Linked DNA regions of Homo sapiens: region 1 is linked to region 2. Evidence: promoter capture Hi-C in 16 types of primary human blood cells and fetal thymus (Javierre and others, 2016). All regions are on one chromosome and are shown on one strand. Each heading gives the region's core, a stretch centred on a gene start or on the middle of the fragment in contact. The rest is flanking DNA. Distances are from core to core; before and after follow the strand shown.

Region 1 (6,968 bases), core at 1,656-4,155, 170 kb before region 2:
CAATTGCAACTTTGCGGAAGACGCAAAGCTTTTTCTAAAGCTGTTGTATCGACCCTTGATAAATGCAGGGCATAACATTAAATCCTACTTTATCCAGGCCTCTCAATGGGAGCCAGGCTAATGCTGTCTAAGTACACTATTGCTGCTTTTCTGTGACTTTATTATTCAGGGACAGCTTTTAGAAAACCTGATAAATGGGATGGTTACCATGGCTCCTAAAGTGGCTCTGAGTGACCTTCTTAACAAGACAGGAAATTCAGATGCCATAAAGAAAAGATCGATAGATTTGCTGCAATAAAAATGTTTTGGTTGACAGAAGATTCCACAAACAAAGTCGAATGAGAAATGGTACAGGGAAGATATTTTCGAGACATATGACATATGGTAATATCCCTCATATAAGGAGAGCTCTCAGAAGAAAACTTCAATAGAAAAGTGAACAAAGGATGTGAATAGGTTGATATATTTTTGTGTACATGTGGTTAGTTTTATGTGTCAACTTGGCTGGACTATAGTCCTACTTATTCAATTAAACACTAATCTAGATGTTGCTGTGAAGGTACTTTGTTGATGTTGTTAACATCTCCAAGCAGCTGACTTTAAGTCTTCAGTAATCTGGGTGAGTGTCCTCTGATTAATTGAAAGAGTTTAAGAGCAAAACTGAGGTTTCCCTGAGGAAGCAGAAATTCTGCCTCGTGTTTGTAGCATCAACTCTCGCCTGAAAATTTACAGCCTTTGGGCTGGCCCTACAGAGTTTGGACTTGCCAGCCCCCAGTCATGTAAGCCAATTTCTCGGACAAATCTCTCTCTCTTTCTTTTTTTTTTTTTTTTTGAGACAGAGTCTCGCTCTGTCGCCCAGGCCAGGGTGCAGGGGCACGATCTTGACTCACTGCAAGCTCTGCCTCCCGGGTTCACGCCATTCTCCTGCCTCAGCCTCCCAAGTATCTGGGACTACAGGCGCCCGCCACCACGCCCGGCTAATTTTTTGTATTTTTGGTAGAGATGGGGTTTCACTGTGGTCTCGATCTCCTGACCTCGTGATCCACCGTCCTCAGCCTCCCAAAGTGCTGGGATTACAGGCGTGAGCCACTGTGCCTGGCTGACAAATCTCTCTTTCTTTCCATATATATAGCTTACCGTTTCTGTTTCTCTGGAGAACCCTAACCGATACAATGACAATATAATGTATAGCGGCTTGATAAAAGTTTGGTAATGGTCAGTACTGGCTTAGATTTGGGGAAACAGGCACTCATACATACACTATTAGTGGGAGTATACATTGAGCAACCATTTTGGATAGCAACTGACAATATCTATCAAGGTTTCAAGTGCAAATTCCTTTGACTCAGCAACTCTATGGCTTTCCTTGCAAAAATAAACCAAGAGGACCAGGCGTGGTGGCTCATGCCTGTAATCCCAGCACTTTGGGAGGCCGAGGCGGATCACCTGAGGTTGGGAGTTTGAGACCAGCCTGACCAACATAGGGAAACCCTGTCTCTACTGAAAATACAAAAATTAGCAGGGCATGGTGACGTGCACCTGTAATGCCAGCTACTCGGGAAGCTGAGGCAGGAGAATCACTTGAACCTGGGAGGTGGAGGTTACAGTCAGCCAAGATCACACCATTACACTACAGCCTGGGTGACAGAACAAGACTCCATCTCAAAAAAAAAAAAAAAAAGTAAACCAAGATATGTGTATAAGGATGCTCATTGTAGTGTTTGTAAGAACAAATAATTCAGCAGTAGAGACTAGTGAAGTAAACTCTAGAATATACATACAATGCAGTACTGTGAAAACAGTAAAAGGATGAGGAAGATCTGTATGTACTGTATGTCCCTGTTGCAGCAGGGAAATACTGGGTAAAAGAGGGCGAGGTCCTGGCGATGGCTCCACCCTCAAGCCTGGACCTGCGGCCCTAAATGAGAACATGCATTCCTGTTTTCCTGCCTGAATGTTGCCTTTTCCAAAACCACCCTGGCCCACCATGTCCCCAGCCCTGTACCCATAAAAAGCTCTTGGCAGACGAGCAGAGTGGTGTAGCTGAGAAGGAGAGAAGAGACAAGCAGCTGAACGTCAAGAGTGGAAGCAACTGAGCATCGGAGCATACGGATAGACACGGCTTAACTTCAGATGGCACGGCTTCAGAGAGGAGCCCGGTTATCTCCAGCCAGGCTTCAGGGAAAGATCACCTTCTTCCCACACCATCCCTTTTCCAGCTCCCCTTCCACTGAGAGCCACTTCCACCGCTTAATAAAATCTCCGCATTCATCATCCTTCAAGTCTATGTGACCTGATTCTTCCTGGACACCTGACAAGAACCCGGGTACCAAGAGAGCAGGGTGTAAAAGGCTGTCACCCTGGCTCTCCACTGAGCTGGTTAACACTTAACTCTGTACCAAGAGGGCAGGGTGTAAAAAGGCTGTCACCTTGACTCTCCGCTGAGCTGGCTAACACTTAGCCATCTGTGGATGGCAACTGCTAAAAGAGCATTAATTGTGTTTTTCTTTTCTTTTATTTTTTTGAGACAGAGGCTCAGTCTGTCACACAGGCTGGAGTGTAATGGTGGGATCTTGGCTCACTGCAACCTCCACCTCCTGGGTTCAAGCAATTCTCCTGCCTCAGCCTCCCAAGTAGCTGGGATTATAGGCACCCGCCACCACACCCTGCCAAATTTTGGGTTTTTTTTTTCAGTAGAGATGGGGTTTCGCCATGTTGGCCACGTTGGTCTTGAACTCCTGGCCTCAGGTGATCCACCCACCTCGGCCTCCCAAAGTGCTGGCATTACAGTCGTGAGCCACCATGCCTGGCCTAAAAGAACCTTAATTGTAACACACCCCTTCATGCTGCCGTGGGGCCAGAGCCCAAAAGTACTCGTCCCAGCCCTAGCACCCACTTGCCTGTGTGCTCCCTCTCACGAGGGGCTGAACCCAGTGGGTTCGAGCAAGTAAAGTTCGTCCCTGCTGGTGCCTAAATGGCCGACTGGACCCAGAGCTGGTGCCCTCCAGTTCCTACCTGCAAAAGGGTCAAAGGAACTCTCCTGTCTCACTGTTTGGGAGAAAGTTCATTATTAAGCAAAAGAAGCAGGGGGCAGAGTGATGTATATAGTATGATGAATGTGTATATGTTACTTAGGTTTATCTGCTGGAGTATGATTAACTTTTCTCAGGGAGGCAATAGAGGCCAAGAGGATTGCCTTTGAGGTTCTGGGGCTGGTAGGTGGGAAATGGAGATAAGACTTTTACTTTTCATTTAATCTTTTTCTATGTTTTAAAAAATTTATTTAAATAATTTGCTTGGCCAGGTACAGTGGCTCACACTTGTAATTCCAGTGCTTGGGGAGGCCAAAGGCAGGAGGATCACTTGAGCCCAGGAGTTCGAGACCAGCTTGAAAACATAGGAAGACCCTATTCTACAATAAATAAAACAATAAGCTGGGCTTGGTGGTGCATGCCTGTATTCCCAGCTATTGGGGAGGCTGAGGCAGGAGGATTACTTGAGTCCAGGAGATTTTCCAGAATTACAGCTGCATTGAGCTATAATTGCACCACTGTACTCTAGCCTTGGTGACACAGTGAGAACCCATCTCAAAAGAAAAAAAAGGAAAAGAAAAAGAAAGGTAATTGTGAGCAAATTATTTTATTTTATTTATTTATTTTTTTGAGATGAGTTCTTGCTGTGTTGCCCAGTCTGGAGTGCTGTGGCTCATGATGACGAGTCACTGCAGCCTCGACCTCTCTGGGCTCGGGTGATCCTCCCACTTCAGCCTCCCAAGTAACTGGGACTACAGGCACATGCCACTGTGCCCAGCTAATTTTTTTGTATTTTTTGCAGAGTTGGGGTTTCACCATGTTTCCCAGGCTGGTCTCGATCTCCTGGGCTCAAGTAATCCACCCATCTTGGCCTCCCAAAGTGCTGAGATTAAAGGTGTGAGCCACCAAACTTGGCCTGCATTTTACCTTTTTAAAGAAAGTATTAACTGGAGGTATTTCAGAGCTGGTATTTTCGGCCATGTCTCTCTTTTTTATAAAATAGGATTTAATTTTTAGAGAATTTCTAGGTTCACATTAACACTGGGCAGAAGATACAGGGATTTTTCCACAGACCCTTTTCCCCCACAGATGTATAACCTTCCCCATTATCAACACCCTCCACTGCCATACTTTTTATGTTTTTCCTGTATTAAAATGCCCTAATAAAGGTAGTAGTCCAGTTGGTAAAGCAAACTCATACATGAGTGATCCTTCATGTAACCTGAAATAAATTGCTTTTCTACAGAAGAACAAAAGATTGGTAATAGATACACACACATATATTTAACAGCAGTTATTTCTGTGTGGCAGGATTCGGAGTGACTTAAGATGCATTCTTTGTGTTCATCTGTATTTCACTGTTTTTCTCTAACAAACACACATTACTTTTGTAGTGGGAAAAAGTCTGTGTGTGTGTTGAGGAGGTGCATTGCACTGGGGAATCTGATGAAAGCTAAGGGGATGCCCAAGTTTAGCCTACCTGTTGCTGAACAAACGCTTGTTTTTTTTTCCAAATACATCTAGCCAATTAATAGGTGCTTAAAAACAAGATCAAATTTTCTAGGCAGGGGGAGCCTCAATTGCAGCTCTTCCACTTTGTCAAGGAGCAGGTAGCAAAGATGACAGGTGCTCTATTCTGAAAATCAAAGAGCCCTTTTTTTTTCTCTAACCCACTATCTTAGTCCCGGCTGCTATAACAAAATACCATAGACTGGGTGGATATGATATGATATGATATGATATGATATGATATGATATGATATGATGTATGATATGATATGATGTTTTAGAGACAGTGTCTCACTCTGTCACCTAGGCTGGAGTGCAATGGCACGATCTTGGCTCACTGCAACCTCCGTCTCCTGGGCTCAGGTGATTCCCCTGCCTCAGCCTCCGAAGTAGCTGGGACTACAGGGTCGTGCCACCATGCCCAGCTAATTGTATCTTTTGGTAGAGACGGAGTTTCACCATGTTGGCCAGGCTGGTCTGGAGCTCCTGATCTCAAGGGATCTGCCTGCCTTGGCCTCCCAAAGTGCTGGGATTACAGGTGTGGGCCACTATGCCCTGCTGATTGTGTGGTTTATAAACAGAAATGTATTTCTCACAGTTTTGGAGCCTGGAGAGTCCAAGGTCAAGGCACTGGTAGGCTCAGGATCTGGTGAGGACCCACTCCTCAGGGAGGACTCCTTCTTGCTGTGTCCTCACATGGTAGAAGGGGCAAGGCAGCTCTCTGGCACCTTTCTTTTTCTTTTCTGTTTTTTTTTTTTTTTTTTTAGATGGAGTTTCGCTCTTGCTGCCCAGGCTGGAGTGCAATGGTACGATCTTGGCTCACCACAACCTCTGCCTCCCAGGTTCAAGCAATTCTTCTGCCTCAGCCTCCTGAGTAGCTGGGATTACAGGCATGCACCACATCTGGCTAATTTCGTATTTTCAGTAGAGACGGGGTTTCTCTATGTTGGTTAGGCTGGTCTTGAACTCCCTCCCGACCTCAGGTGATCTGCCTGCCTCGGCCTCCCTAAGTGCTGGGGTTACAGGCATGAGCCACCGCGCCCAGCCCTCTGGGGCCTTTCTTATAAGGGCACTAATCCCATTCAGGAGACCTAGTTACTCTCCTGACCTAGTTACTCTCCAAAGGCTCAACCTCGTAATGCCATCACATTGAAGGTTAAGTTTCAACGTATGAAATTCGAGAGACACAAACTTTCAGACTCACTCTTTGGAGACGCCTATTTTTCTCAGAAATAAGCTTTGCCTGTGCCTGAATTCCTGGACAAGAACTTGGGTAAGGCCCAGATTCCCATTCCATACACTGCAGAAGAGGGGCATGAGATCTGGAAAATGTTCAAGGCTGGTGGTATCAGTTACCTGCTTAATAAGTCAGTTTTCAGTGCATGATAAAACATTCTTTCATTCTGAAATTTGTTTTATTTCATTTTATTTTATTTTTGAGACAGAGTTTCGCTCTCGTTGCCCAGGCTGGAATGCAATGGTGCGATCTCAGCTCACTGCAACCTCTGCCTCCCAGGTTCAAGTGATTCTCCTGCCTCAGCCTCCTGAGCAGCTGGGACTACAGGTACCTATCACCATGCCAAGCTAATTTTTTGTATTTTTAGTAGAGACAGGGTTTCACCATGTTGGTCAGGCTGGTCTTGAACTCCTGACCTCAGGTGATCCGCCTACCTTGCCCTCCCAAAGGGCTGGGATTACAGGCGTGAGCCACTGCACCCGGCCAGGAAATTTGTTTAAAAAACAACCTTGGAGTGGACGCCCTGGTGACAACCAGCTCCGGGATTCTCTGCTTTATCAATTCTTCATTGTCAGCACTGAGCAGGATCTAAGGGCTGTTTTCTCTCTCTCTCTCTCTCTCTCTTTCTCTGCCCCCTCCCTGACCCTGACACAAGGCAGCATGGCTTATATGAACCAGGCCTGGGTTTGAATCTTGGCTCTGCCACTTACTAGCTATGTGACCTTGGACACGTCACTTGCTCTCTGCGTCTCAATTTCTTTGAAAAATGAGAAACGCATCACCTTTCCTCTAGATTTATAGTGAGGATTCAATGTAATAATGATGGAAAATATGAAACATAGCACAAGTGGTTGGGAAAGATAAAGTGCAATTGGAAGTGAGGGGAACTAAAAGGGCTCAGGAATGGTTTCTGAGAAGAATTATGATTTATAAAAACAGAGACTGGTTCTTAGGTGCTAGACAGAGTCCCCTAGCAGAGCACACAAGGCCAGGGCAGAATGACAGGTTCAACCATTCACGTACATACATGCACACACACACATACATACATACATAGGTGCGTTAGAGCAGGGAGAATCTCAGATGACCTGTCTAATCCCTGCTTTCACATATGGGGACAGGGAAGCCCAGGGATATAACTGGCTTGTGTATAGGTCAATGGTCAAACCAGGATTACAGGTTCAAATGAG
Region 2 (6,995 bases), core at 3,403-5,902:
AGCGGCCTCCAGTCTCAGAGCTCCACGGGCACCTCGGGTCCTCCCGTTACGTCCCAGCGTGCACCTGGCCCAGCTCTACCAGACAGGACAGCCCTGATCCCAGCCCACACCCAGGGTAAGGTTCGTGCCCCCAGGACTGCCACCTGGGCAGCCTTTCCTGTAGGCTGGGGAGAGATGGGATGGTTGTGTCTCTCTTCTTCTGGTCCCTTCTTTGCTCACGCCTCCCACACCTAATGTGAAGGTCCTACTAAGTGCCAGGTGCTCCTGTCAGGATAGGGTCACAGCAGGGAACCACTCAGCCACAGTCCTGCTCTGGTGGAGTTTGGGTTCTACCAGGTGGATTCACACAGTGAACAGGTCAGCACAGTGGCTGACAGACAAATACAGCGAAGTTTGATGACTGCTGGGAAGAGATATTTGTGCCTTGGGTTTGGGGAGCATGTGTGTGGGTGTTGGAGTCGCTATTTCACTGACAATGATCAGAAGAGGGTTTGTGGATTAGAGGACATGAGCGTGGAGACCTGCAGGATTTGGGAGCAGGGCGCTCTGGGGTCTGGGGGAAGAGGGGTCCAGGCAGAGGGAGGAGTGAGGCAAATGTCCTGCAAGGGAGTCCTGGGACCCGGCCAGGCCAGGGCAGGGGGCAGATGTTTTGGTGCCCGGTGACCCCGGCCCTCTCCCCTGGCCTCCCTTGCAGCCCTGGCCCGAGTCTCATCCTGTTTGATGAGCCCAGTCCTCTGAGGAGCTGAGAGCTGAGCTGGGCCATTCATTCATTCCTTCCATTCCTTCAACAACCATGAATTTTACAGGCTGATATTTGCAACCAGAGGGCAGGTACCAGTTACTTGTGAATAACATGAATAGTCCTCACCTTCTCGGGAAATGATGGCCATACAGGCATCAAACTACATGACTGATTCCATGCGCCAGTGAATAACCCCGGGATGTAGAGATCTTGTGGGTGTGGTTCTCACCTGGATCCCTCCCTGTCCTCATGCACCATTTTCACGGCCACGTGCTTCCTTATAGGCAGTCCTGAGACTCCAGGGACTCTCAGGCTGAAGGTCAGGGTCTAATGATCTCTTTAGAGGAGTTGTCATATACAGAGTTTGTCCTCACAGGGATTTGTGTGGCCACAGGACCTGGGTTCACAGACAGGCAGAAGGTGGAGGGCACCTGGGCTTCCCCTGGGGAGATGACTCACTGCCATCACCGTGTCCCCACAGCTCCCTGTTCAGCAGCCCCTACGTCCTGCTCCTGGTCCTGGAGCTGCCCCTGCTCCTGAGCATGCTGGGTGCCGTCGTCTGGGTGAACGGACCTCAGAGAAGCTCTGGAAGCAGGCAGAGTTGGCCAGAGGGTGAGAACCAGTAGCATCTACTGTCCATCAAGGCCCTGCACTGCGACAGAACCCCTTTGCGGGACTGGAATGACCTCCTGACCACTCCCTCCCGGGCTGCTCTCTCCACATCTCCTGGAATTCTCTGTGAGCCTCCTTCAGCCTTTTCCCTGTGCCTGATCCATGAATCACACGTGAACCTGATGGACACAGACGCCCTGAGCTGTGACTCCATGTCTCATGTGCACGCCCTGGCCAGCTGAACCTCGAGCTGTCACCAACACCTCTAAGTGCCTGATGCCCTCTCTGCACCTTTCCATTTCTCCAGGAGCTTGGCATTGCTTCCTTCAACGTTTTCACAGGGAGGAGCAGGTCCAGGACTCCCCTGCACCTTTGCCACCATAATGGCCCACACTCCCCGGGTCCAGGAGTGCAGAATATGTGGCTGCTTCCATTTGCTGAGTGTGTCAATTCAATGATGCTTTCGAACTTTAAGAAATGACAATACATAGATTCTGGACCTATCATGCCCACTAAGTCAGACCTGGGTGAAAACTCCATTGTTCCCTGATCTCCACAGGCCTTTGCTCAGAATAGTGGACTAAGCCCCAGGCTGGGCCTCTCAGGACTGGGGTCCCTGCAGAAGAGGATCCAGGATTCCCCCCAAAACCTGACAATTCCGTTCCTTATGTAGACACATCCTGGCCAGTGTCTTCTGGTCCCTGCGGGAGGGCTGGTAGAAGATTATCAGTGTGAGTTGTGGCATGGTAGCCAGGCCTTTCCTTCCTCCTTCCTCAAGGGGACCTGACCTCCCCTTCATTCCAGGGCTGTGGCTTTTAACTGACTCAAATATGGAAATTGGTTGAGGGCCGTGACTTCTTAATGTGGTAGTTAACTGAGTCTTTTGCTTACTAGTGCAGACCATGTCTGCTTATCCAGACAAAGGAAGACGTTATCAGCTGACCATCGTTTCGGTTCCAGGGATGCCACACCCAAGACCCCTGTGAGGCAGATGATCCCCATGAGTCCACCAGGTCAAGGAGGGACACGCCTGGGGGTCCTCACCTATTTTTACATTCAGCAGATACTTATGGGAGCTTCTGGTGTATCAGACACTGACCTGGCATTGGAGTCCAGCCGTGAACACCCAGGCAAGGAGCTCTGTTTTCATTGAGCTCATATTCCAGGCGGGGGATAGAAATGATAAACAGATGCAAAAATACGTGCATAAATTCCAGAAGAAATATAAAAGTCAGAGATGAAAAGAGTCACGGAATGAAATAAGAGAAGTGGGGTGACTGCTGTGCAGGAGCTGAGGGGGACTGTGGTGAAGCCCCTCTAATAGGCGCTGAGCAAGCAGGGATCAGGAGAAAGGAGGGGGTGAGCGCCAGGATCCCTGGAGGAGGAGCCCTGAGGCAGAGAGAGGAGCAGGTGCACATGTCCTGCCAGGGGCAGATGCCTCCCTGGGTCAGGTGGCTTCAGGGCCTCCAGACAGCATTTCCTGTCTCCTCCCCAGCCTGGGCAGGAAATGGTGCACCAACTTTGGATGACTAAGTCCTCTGAGGCAGTGGGACATCAGGATGTCATGTATCCATTCACCCATTCATCCTTTCAACAGCCAGTTTGTTAAACTGCACTTGGCAGACTCTGGAATGATAACGGGCACAGCTGTGAATGAGACAAGAGGCTGCACCTGCTCTCAAGGGGCGGCCACCCTAGATGGGAGCAGACATTGACTCGCCAACAGAAAGACTGAGGAAGACGAGAGGGAAGTGTGAAATGGGTCATGAGGACCCCTAAAAAGCGAGCCACCATAACCCGGGAAGGTCAAGGAACACGCAGGCAACCCTGTCGGCTGGAGCCAGGCAGAGGAGTGGGAGGTTGAGGGTCTGGACAAAGGCCCGAGTGGGGAGGGTGGCAGCACCAGTGTGAACCTGGATCCAGGAGGCTGGAGACACCTACCAGGTGCTGGGGCCTGCCAGGACCTGTGTGCAGAGGCCAGGTCAGGTGGGTGCCATCCTGTGACAGCAGGAGCCATTGGGAGTTCAGCAGCGCCTCCCCAGGGCCATGTGTGTGTGTCAGGGATCACATTGCTGATTCTGTGGAGAATGAAAGGGGTGGGTATGAGCAGAAGGGGAGACCAGGTCAGCCCATGAAAGAGCCGGGATACTTCAAAGCCAGGCCCAGGCCAGACCTGAGCACTGGGCTAATTGGAGGCCCTGGGATTGCACTGGGCTAGAGATAGTCCCATGATGTGAGTCTGGGGGCATCAACACCAATGACCCCAGTGCATGCTGTGTCCCTGAGAGTGTAAATGGAGGGAGGACAGGGCAGGTCGAGGGTGCAGAGACCCCTTCATGGTGCCAGGTTTGCCCAGACTCCCATCACTCTCCACTCAACCTCATGGCTGTGTGCACATACTGGTGCTATTGACTCTGATAGGAAGAAAGGAACAGAAATCTGTAGGAGGGTTGGGAGAGTCAAGGAATATGCTTAAGGCATGAGAAGGTGGAGAAGGGGTGATGCCCTCCAGGACAGACAGGAGGTAAATCCTGTGTCTGACTAGCCTCCTTGCCCTTTCCAGGGTAAAGACACCCTGAGCCCATCACGTCAGGAGAACCAGCCATGCCGAGTGTGGATAGACCTGGGTTCCCGCCTCCTGGGAAGGCCTGTCTGCCATGTCTGCTCCCTGCGGAGGCCCCTGGCCATCACAGTGGACCCAGGATAGACACCAGCAGCCGCTGCTCATGACAAACTGTCCTCTCAGTCACCAAACACCCCTCCGTGTGCCCTGGGGTGTGTGCTGGCTCAGTCGCAGCCTCACATCCTCCACAAAGTCCCACTTCAGCATCTTCACATGTCTGAACTCTCTCTCTATTCTCAGTTCTCTGCCCTGATTCCCACTGGGGCATGGATTTTGGCAAGAAGACAAGATGGAAAAGGAGGGTCTCGGGTGGGTGATGCCGCTGTGTGTGTAGGTCTGGGGGCAGGGGCACAAGAGGAAAACTCCCCAAGCCTGTGGGATTTTAACCTGGTTGGGGACTCAGCACCAAAAAGGGACATGCAGATGGTGTCTGGGTTCATAGCGCTAACTTCTGAGGCCAGAAGAAGAGCTGGGGGTCTTAGGGGCAGAGGTCTCTGCGGGGACCTAGCTGAAGATTAAGGGACACAACCTCTCTCTGGTCACCTCCAAGGCTAAAGAAGGTGGCAGATTTAGCCTCCAACCACAAGATTGTCCATCCTGACCAGGAAGTGACATGTCACAGAGGGTGGAGCAGCCCATGTGGTAGGAAATGGCCCAGCTTGGCTCTGCCTTCTGCAGTGTGAGTAACACACTGAAGCCAGAAGCTGTGGGCTGTGGGGAAGTGGCTGCATCGCCACCCAAGGGACCCTGGACTTTGCCAGACGTCAGGGTTGAGAGGAGCCACTAGCACCATCCCAGAGCTGTCAGCACCGGCCTCAGCCCAGGCGGCTCTCTCCCTGAGCTTCCTGTACCCTGACCCTCTCCAGCCTCAGACCTGAGACAGGGCTGGACAAGGAAGCAGAGAGCAGAAGAAAAGCAGAAGCGAAGCTCAGATCTGCTGGGAGGAGATTACATTTTGTCCCCTCCTGGGGTCTTGCACAGTGGCAGGTGACATTCGTGTTACAGGAATGACTGCCAGGGCCTGGGCCTCGTGGCGGTCTTCAGCTCTGCTCCTCCTGCTTGTCCCAGGTGAGTGGGCCGACCCTGGACTTGGGGAGCTCTGTCCTGAGTGGGAGAGGGCAGGGAGGGGTGCAGGCGCTGGAGTAGCGGTCATAGAGGGGAGTGGGGCAGGGAGAGGGGAGGAGGGCAAAGGAGCACCCAGGAGCGGTCAGCAGCTGCCTCACCAGGGGACAGCAGGCGGCAGGGCACAGCACGGGGGAGGCCTATTCCTCTGTGCCCGAGACAGGAAGCCCTGGTGGGAGGTGATGCTGTGACTGTCATTGCCAAAGTTATCCAATCACAAATTTTATCTGGGACGATCACACACACAGTCACACTCACACGCACACACGGTCACACTCACACAGTCTCACACACATGCACACACAGTCACACTCACACAGTCTCACACACACATGCACACAGTCACACATGCACACACAGTCACACTCACATGCACACACAGTCACACATGCACACACAGTCACACACAGTCACACTCACACAGACAGTCACACTCACACAGTCACACACACAGAGTCACACTCACATGCACACACAGGCCCGCACACACCCAGTGTTTCCCTAGCCTTGCCTTTCCAGTCTCCATGGAAACTTCCCATGCCCTTCCCACCTCTGCACAGAGGGAGCCTCCCACCCTCAGTCCCTGTTCCTGGGTGGACAAAGGCTGCCTGCCTGCCATTGCCTTCTCCACACGCCCAGGGTCCATGAGGGGCTGACACTGCGGCACCCCTGACCAGGCCCCTCTGGTAAGGAGACAGGATTTTGGCTTGTATTTTTCAGGCTATTTTCCTCTGAGCCACCCCATGACCGTGGCGGGCCCCGTGGGGGGATCCCTGAGTGTGCAGTGTCGCTATGAGAAGGAACACAGGACCCTCAACAAATTCTGGTGCAGACCACCACAGATTCTCCGATGTGACAAGATTGTGGAGACCAAAGGGTCAGCAGGGAAAAGGAATGGCCGAGTGTCCATCAGGGACAGTCCTGCAAACCTCAGCTTCACAGTGACCCTGGAGAATCTCACAGAGGAGGACGCAGGCACCTACTGGTGTGGGGTGGATACACCGTGGCTCCGAGACTTTCATGATCCCATTGTCGAGGTTGAGGTGTCCGTGTTCCCGGGTGAGCCCCTCCTTTTCTCAGCACCAGGCCTGCCTGAGCCTAGGGCTGGTCATTCTGTCCCTGAAGAAAGAAGTGGAACAGGAGGGTGTGAGCCTGGGGGTTGGTGAGTCAGGACACTGTGTGCCGCTGTGTGTGGATGAGTGTGAGTGCGTCTTTGTGTATGCGTGCCTGCATAGGAGTTGTGGTGTGGTTTGTGTGTGTGTGCACCTGCATGTGTGTGTTGGGAGGGTGGGCGCCCACAAAAGCACCCTGGCCCTGTGGCTGGAGACCCCCCGCTGTGGGCCCTCCCTCACGGCCTCAGGCCTGAAACTTTCCTGGGTGGGGTCTGTGAGGCCACCCCTGACTCTGGGGTCCTTGCTACCTCCCTGTATTGACAAGGGCCGGATCCATACTGAAGGGTGCCCACTGTCCCGCCTGGGTCTAACTCGCTCTTCCCCACGGGGAATTGGACCCCCCCATCATTGGCTCCTCTCACTCAAGGCTGCCCCTGCCCTGGGGCCTGCATGGATGCCGCCCTGTCTGGAGGGTCCTGAGGCCGCAGCCTCACAGCCCTGTCCTGGGAGCTCCTGCAGCAGCCACTGGAGGACACAGGAAGGAGCCCCAGAGCCCTGGGTGGGGTTCTCATGCTCCTGGGAACCACATCCTGCCCCTGAGGCTGACCTGTGTGTCCCCCTTATTCTCTGGCACCTTTTACCACAGGAGGGAACCCCAGAAATTGCCCCCTCAGGCAAAGGGACCTGTGGATGGAAATGAGCTGAGACTGGCACGGACCTGAGGGCCCTTTCCCGTGCCGAAGATCATTCTTCCCTCAAAGGCCCCCTCCTGTCTCACAAGACA

The links. The method cuts DNA at HindIII sites, captures the fragments that hold promoters and counts their contacts. A CHiCAGO score of 5 or more calls a contact.
Region 1: a fragment that was not itself captured here is called in contact with the fragment with the promoter of CD300C in region 2 in 1 of 17 cell types (monocytes); the score reaches 6.4 in monocytes.

The regions. Positions count from the first base shown.
Region 1 is chr17:74,716,147-74,723,114 of GRCh38, reverse strand. It overlaps a transcript of RAB37 not described here. Among named protein-coding and RNA genes, the nearest start is that of CD300LF, 6.7 kb to the right of the region's middle. The HindIII fragment of the contact is 5,750 bases long and covers 31-5,780 here.
Region 2 is chr17:74,543,772-74,550,766 of GRCh38, reverse strand. It overlaps CD300C (CD300c molecule), which reads left to right and starts at 4,652. Exons shown (of 4, transcript NM_006678.5): 1 at 4,652-5,045; 2 at 5,820-6,158. The coding sequence starts at 4,985. It also overlaps a transcript of LOC107985074 not described here. The HindIII fragment of the contact is 25,491 bases long and covers 1-6,995 here.